2 separate regions of the Homo sapiens genome follow, and region 2 is linked to region 1. Evidence: promoter capture Hi-C in 16 types of primary human blood cells and fetal thymus (Javierre and others, 2016). All regions are on one chromosome and are shown on one strand. The core of a region is centred on a gene start or on the middle of the fragment in contact, and the rest is flanking DNA. Distances in the headings are between cores, read along the strand shown.

Evidence for each region. Contacts are between HindIII fragments. The CHiCAGO score rates a contact against its expected background, and 5 or more counts as called.
Region 2: a fragment that was not itself captured here is called in contact with the fragment with the promoter of PSTPIP2 in region 1 in 1 of 17 cell types (non-activated CD4 T cells); the score reaches 5.4 in non-activated CD4 T cells.

What each region holds. Positions count from the first base shown.
Region 1 is chr18:46,070,653-46,074,181 of GRCh38, reverse strand. PSTPIP2 (proline-serine-threonine phosphatase interacting protein 2) reads left to right here and starts at 1,922. Exons shown (of 15, transcript NM_024430.4): 1 at 1,922-2,026. The coding sequence starts at 1,994. RefSeq lists silencers at 1,627-1,786, 1,917-1,966, 2,007-2,386 and enhancers at 1,516-2,017, 3,237-3,296, 3,337-3,436. The HindIII fragment of the contact is 16,135 bases long and covers 1-3,529 here.
Region 2 is chr18:45,895,438-45,898,966 of GRCh38, reverse strand. All of the region lies in intron 27 of EPG5 (ectopic P-granules 5 autophagy tethering factor), which reads left to right. Among named protein-coding and RNA genes, the nearest start is that of EPG5, 70 kb to the left of the region's middle. RefSeq lists enhancers at 1-776, 1,609-1,903. The HindIII fragment of the contact is 2,149 bases long and covers 506-2,654 here.

The DNA of each region.
Region 1 (3,529 bases), core at 673-3,172:
CCTCTTAAAGATCCTACCTCTCTCAATACTGTCTCATTTCAGATTAAGTTTCAACAAGAATTCTTGGAGGGGGCAACATTCAAACCACAGAAGTTAGTAAAATATCCTAAATATGTCCCTTGGATATAGCACACACTTTGTTTGTTTTTTTACTCACAATACCTGCCCCAGAGATGAGCTGTTTGAGGAATGAAGAATATTTTCCAGCAGCGTGGATGACCATTTGCAATTAAAAACTTTGTCACCAGATGGCGGAAGAGGGTTAAAATTCAGGGAGCTTAGAGTCTGAGTCGCGAAAATCAAGCACAATGTACTGTGAGAGCTTGTGAAACGTTCTAATAACTTAAAATTATACATGTATTAAAAATTAAAATGTGACAATTAGAATTGTATCTAAACTATTTTTCCAGAATATTTAAAACTTCCAGGAAAAACCTTAGTGGTGTCTTCAGCTCTCCCGCTTCTATGTCCCCAGTTTGTGCCATTTCTTACCCCCTGCAGTTAAGCCTAGCTTCCTAGTGCCTACCACGTCCTCTGCTGCCCCTTGATGGTTCTGCCAGGCTTCTCTGCCTTCCTTCTAATCTCACTGCTTTCAAAGGATATGAGCAAGTACGTAAATGGATGCATCCCTTGGAGATGCTTGGTGGCTGGAGGCCACCTCTCCATCTTTGCAGTTGTGGATGACTTTATTGGTGGGAGTTCATCTGAGTGGGGCTGGCTGCAGTTTTATGGAGCAGAACTTGTTCCAGGTGCTTCACATAATTCTAGCAATTGCCCTTTCACTGTGTCTGGGTGTAGCTAGAACCTGCTCCAGGGGTGAGTGCTTGCTTCTCCAGGCTGGGCTGGTGCCAGTCTTGGCAACCTTGACCTTTATCCTCCCCACTTTGAGCACCTATTCCTCTGCCCAGGATGGATCTGCCCCAGGAAGGATGTCTGTCTTTGCATCTATTTAGAAGGGCAGAGCTCTAACCTTGAGCTCTTCATCCCTTAAATAAACTGTGATCTTGGGCAAGCCATTCAACCCCTCTGGGCCTCAGGTTGGGCTTCGGGCCTGTCGCACCAGGCAGTACTTTGTCATAAGCCCTGCATTACTATTAAAAGTCATGGCAAAAACCGCAATTACTTTTGTACCAATCTACTACAATGCAGAGAGGGGTCTGACCTGCCCTGGGGTTTTATTTGTGAGGGTGGAAGAGTGGAGGGAGAAGAAGGAATCTTGGGCCCCTCTTGCTGGGGTGGAATGGGCAGGGAAGGGTCTTGCCTTTTGAGAATGGAAAGGGAGTCAGAGAGCGGCTGAGCTCCTGGAAGCCCTGTTAGGACACCACCAAGTGACTAGAGTCAAGGGGAAACAGCAGAGATGACCTCTCCATGACATTTTAGACTAAAACGTGACCCCATTCATTAAAAACACCTGCAACAACAAAAAGTAAAATAAAAAATGAACCGTCCCCCAGGGCCTGATCTGCAGCAGGTGCCGGTGGGGCCCGCCGTGAAGCCAAGGCGTCTGCGGGAGTTGTCGGCCCCAGGCCTTCTGTAGCTTAAACCGGGTCCTCGCGACCATCTGATCAGATCCCGTCTATCACCCCGCAGAGCCTGGATTTCGTGCTGTCCAGGGGGCCTTGTGGGCAGGAACCCAAGCCAGGACCAGTTATTTCCAATACCCAAAGACTTCCAGAAGGAGGCAGCTAGCTTCGGGCTGATATATTGATCGTGGCCCGACGCTGTGGGGCTTTAAATGGGCCTGGGTCCGGGTGCGGGCTGCAGCCCCTGGCCGGGTGAGCGCCGAGGGTCCCGCCCAGGTCTCGCGCAGGGAGCGCAGAGCGCCGACGGCGGCCGTCGCAATCGGGAGTGGTTTAGGACCCGGGGGCGGCTTCCCTGCGCGAGTGTGGAACGCAGAAGTTGAGTCTGCGGAGCCGCGGGCAGTGGCAGTCAGGCCTCCCCGCTCTGTGCTACCTGCGGCCCGGCTCTCCTCCGCGCCCCCACTCGCGCTGCGATGACGCGCTCACTGTTCAAGGGAAACTTTTGGGTAAGTCGTGGGGCCGACAGCGGATCGCGGGGCTCAGGACCCGGCCCGGGCGGGAGGCCAACGCGGCGGGCGTGGGGGGCTCCCCAGCTCCGGCGCCACTCGGTGACCGCGCGCCCGGGGGCTTGGCGGAGCTCGCGCGTGAAGGGATCGGGGCCCCAGCCCCACTGCTCGAGGGGCAGACTTGGAGCGGACGCCGGGCTGCTGTTCCCTCTCTGTCCCCCGCTACCCACCGCGTGCCCGCGAGTCCCGGGGGCTCGGACTCCAGGGCCCACCCTCTGCCGCCCGCGCCCCCAGCAGCGCGTGCTCCTGAGGACGCAGAGAGCCGAGACACCTTAGAGTCAGGACATCAACCCCTCCTCTCACAGGCGAAGCAGAGACCCTTAGGGAGGCGAGACCCGTCCGGGGAGAGTCTCTGCCGGTCCCTGGAGCTGAGCCGTGAGAGGATCTGGGGGGATCTGGTGTGGGGGCTTGTGAGCTTTACCGGGTTGACAGCAGCAGCTGCCCCCCGGGATCGTCCTTTCCAGGAAACGTACAGCATAGAGGGCTTCCCTTTGCTGGAGCTTTCCCTGTTCTACAGCCTTGTTTCCCGAGCCCCCTCCCCAGGCCATTGCCCCAGCCCTTCCGTCCAGGCCCCATAGCGGGGCTGATGGTGTGGGAGACCCTATAAGCTGGAGGGGGTACCCCACCCAGCCCGGTAGGGCCAGCCCAGCCTGGAGGGAGCAGGTCTGCCTGTCCCCCTCCTCTGTCTAGTCCTCTTCCCTCTGTCCTCTCACTCCCCAGGTGCCCCTCAAGGTCCATGCCCCCTCATTCAGAGGAGCTGTCCTCATCCCTTTAAGACAGGAGCAGGAGGCTGCAAACCTCAAAGTTGACCGCAGCTGCCAAGGGGCCCTGACTCCTTACTGGGGCTCCTGCTTGCCTCCCCCCACCACCCACCCAGGTAGCTTCACAGCTGCCTAGATGGTCCCTCTACCCCACGTGGGCTGCAGGGTAGAGAAACCTGGCTGGGGACCTCAGGGACACAGTTGAGACTGTGCCTGTGAGTCCCTTCACTGGAGTTTGTGAGGTCCTTCTGGGGCACTACTCACCCTAGGGTGCAGGGTGGTGGCAGCCTCACAGAGGAACCAAGGGCACCACAGATGGCTCTCACGGGAGGCTTGCGAGTTTTTCAGGTAGAATGGAGGACTGGGGGATCCCATGGCAGGCACTGTGGGAAAAAGGCTCTGTATAATACAAACTGGAGAATGAGATGTGGGCCCCAGAAATAAGGAAGTCAGCAGAGGAACTGGTTCGTGGAGACATAAGGAGAAGGAGGCAGACGTGATACTAACAGTATTTAGTTCAGGCACAGTGGCTCATGCCTGTGATCCCAGCACGTTGGGAGGCCGAGGTAGGAGGATTGCTTGAGGCCAGGAGTTCGAGACCACCCTGGGCAACATAGTGAGACTCTGTCTGTCTCTACAAAAAAATCTTAAAAATTAGCTGGGCATGGTGGTGCATGCCTGT
Region 2 (3,529 bases), core at 331-2,830, 170 kb after region 1:
TTTTAGTAGAGATGGGATTTCACCATGTTGGTTAGGCTGGTCTTGAACTCCTGACCTGGTGATCCACCCGCCTCGGCCTCCCAAAGTGCTGGCATTACAGGCGTGAGCCACCGCGTCCGGTCTCAATTGATTAAAAGACTTTGGTGATGATACAGTTAGAAGGAATTTGGAAATGGAGTGGCCATGATGTCATTTAGGGGTCGGTGGCTAGGTCAGCCCGTTCCAAGTGTTTTGGGGGTGTTGGTGGGAATTCACATTGGAAAGCTTGGTGTGCACCATCATTGGGAACTCTGGCTGTCTGCTGCACATGGCAGGGAGCCCCTGAAGATGAACGTGGGAAGGATATATGGGAAGCAGATTAGTTGGGTGGAACTTGCTGACAGGCAGAGGAGAGACATGCAACAATGTGACTGAAACTTGAACTGCCTCTCAGAGTTACCTTCTTGCACTGGAATATAGGCAGAATTTGGATCTGCAATATGGTATGCACTTCACAATGGAAGCTTCGCTGAAGCTAGTGTGCCATAGCATTTACTTTATGCCAGGCCCTGTCTAAACACTTTAAATAAGTTATTTTATCCTCACAACAACTCTGCAAGGTGGCCTTTATCATATTATCTTCATTTCTCAGGTAAGGAAGTAGAGTCACAGAGAAGTTAATTAAGTTGCTCACCTGAAGTGCCACAGCCCGTAAGTGGCACAGCCAGAAAGGCCCAGGCAGTCCGGCTCCAGAGCCAGTGCTCTTTTTAAAGTAGAGATGGGGTTTTGTAGTAGAGATGGGATTTTGCCATGTTGCCCAGGCTGCTCTCAAACTAGTGGGCTCAAGCAATCTGCCTGTCTCGGACTCCCAAAGTGCTGGTATTGCAGGCCTGAGCCACCGCACCCGGCCAGCCTGTGTTCATTAATCACCGCACTGTATTCCTCCTTCGAGTGAAGTCAGTATTCCTTAAGCTGAAAGAGAAATGCTTGGAGATTAGCACTGCCTATTGTCTAAATCTGTCTACACACAAATGATTCTTTTTTGTTAGCTTTTGGAAATTGGAGAAAATTTATTTTACTCCCTCTTGTTTGTCTTTCAGAAATTTCCCTTCTTTTTTTGCTAATTTTCATTGTAACTATTCCAATGTCTCCATCAATTTCCTTGGGAGACTCTTTTCTACAAAATGTCTTCTCTGAAATAATCTTTTATATGTATTGTATTTTTCATTACTTTCAAAATGTGTCTCTGATTTTTCAACATAGTTGTATTTGTCTAAAGTTCAGAAATTTGACCTAAAAGTTAGGATGAGTCCAACTTATTTTCCCGTATGTTATTGTAAATATGTGCGACTCTTAAACATTGAGTTATCTTTGGCCAGGTGCTTTATACAGTTGGTTTTCTTTTGGTGTATTTTTTTCCCAGTTACTAATGCTGTTATAGTAAGACCAAGGTAGAAATATTTAAGAAAAGATCGCTTGCTGAAGTAATAAAACTGGGAGAAAAGTTTGCCAATTTTGGGTGGAGTTCGAGTTAGTGAGGAAAAAACTGAAAATGTATCCGGTTTTAATAAAAAAAGGGGTGTCTTCACCAATTTGTGTTTTTCCATATTTTAAAACTACATATCTTTGCCAGACTGTTAATTTTATATAGAGAAGAGAATTCTAAAATGCATTTTTATAAGTGACAAGTGAGATAACTATAAAGAAATGTTTTTCCAGTTCTGGCTGATGGCTTGCTCTGTGAAGAACTGTAAATATTTACTGCCTCAGCTAAAGAACAGGTCTCTTGCCCTGACCTCCTGTTAACTCTCTGGGCCTTGCAGTGGAAAATACCACCAGGCAGGCCAGGGAGCTGAAGCTCTAAGCCTACCTGTGACTTGTCTCTTTTCCTTTACAGAAAAAGGGATCATAGTATTATATTATTTGTCTGAACCCTTGAATTGAGATTTTAAACATAATCTTTTGCTTTGTTAATTCTGAAATAAAAAGAAACACCTTTTCTAAAATGTCTTCTAGGTAATTTTGATTGGAGGGAGGTCAGAGAAAAGATGATTTATGATAAGGACTGATGTGAACATGGCTTAGATGTTTTTACAAACATACCAAAGTTCTTGTGCTTTCTTTTCTTTAAAGAAAAGTTGGGCTGAGCGTGGTGGGTCACTCCTGTAATCCTAGCACTTTGGGAGGTTGAGGTGGGCAGATTGCTTGAGCTCAGGAGTTCAGCAGCCTGGGCAACATGGAGAAACTCTGTCTTTACAAAAAATATTATACAAAAATAAGCCGGGCATGGTGGCGCACGCCTGTGGTCCAAGCTACTTGGGTGGCTGAAGCAGGAGGATCACTTAACCGCAGGAGGTCCAGGCTGCAGTGAGCTGTGACTGTGCCACCGCACTCCAGCCTGGGCAACAGAGTGAGACCCTGTCTCAAGAAAAAAAAAGAAAAATTGGTAATTGCTAATATAGCTTGAAGAAAGAAGGGGGAAAAGTAATGAAGGAGAGAGGGAAAAAAGGAGATGTTGCAGAAGCGTAAAGAATTTGAAAAAATAGCTGTATTTTGTGGCCCTAACCTCATTAGAAATATTTAAGTTTTCTTAAAGCAGGTTTTACTTTTCTGCTGGCCTCACTCGTTTGCTTAGTGCCCTGACTTTTAGTCCCACTTGGGAAGTTCCACAAGCTTGAGATCCCTCACTGATGGCTCCTAGAAGTTCAGTATCAATAATAGTATCGACTGCAGCCAGTGTTTTGCCTGATAACGCAGATTTGCCAGGGCAATTAAAAACATGGACAGTGAACAACTTTTATAGGCGGAGACTTAAATAATCTTGAAAGTTATATAGTACTGTTGTTGCTAGTTGAGGCTATCCCAGGCGGTATTTGCTGGTTGATACTTCTAGGACTTGAAGATAAAAATATGTTTTGTTACACATTAATGGCAAAGGGCAAGATAGAGGAAAGCTGAAACTCTACCTGCTATGAAGTTGGGGAATTATCTATGCAAGTTGTTCGTTTTGCTCAGATTTTTGGCCAAAGATTGTACTTAAATATGAAGCCATCCAATACCCAAATGGATAATATTGGTTATGGATGACTTTAGTTTTGGAAAAAGAGGTGTTAATGGAGGATAGAGAGGGTGAGTTCTCAGTGTTTATGACTCATCATGAAACTGTCATTGGGAGAGAGTATGTCCTGCAAAAGGTAGGTTGTGTTATTTTTATACATAAAACTGTAGCCCTCTATATAGATGTGTCCAGTGACCACCTCATGGCTATGTTCAGTAGTTTTGATTCCTTTTAACATCTTTCTGTTGTGATATTGAACTTTATGTAGTCACATCTTTTCCCTCTGAATCTCTAAGCACTTCTCAGTTTCCAGGGTTTCTTCCTCCTCAACTCAAACCCTTAAATTGCTAGTTATCCTGATTCTCTTCTTCATATGACATCATCTTCTTTTGCCTACTGTCTGTGCTGGAGTTCTTAATCTGGGGTCTGTGAATGGTCTTTAGAGAATTGGTGAAGTTCCTGAAAGTGTGCATAAATTTTTTTTTCTGGAGA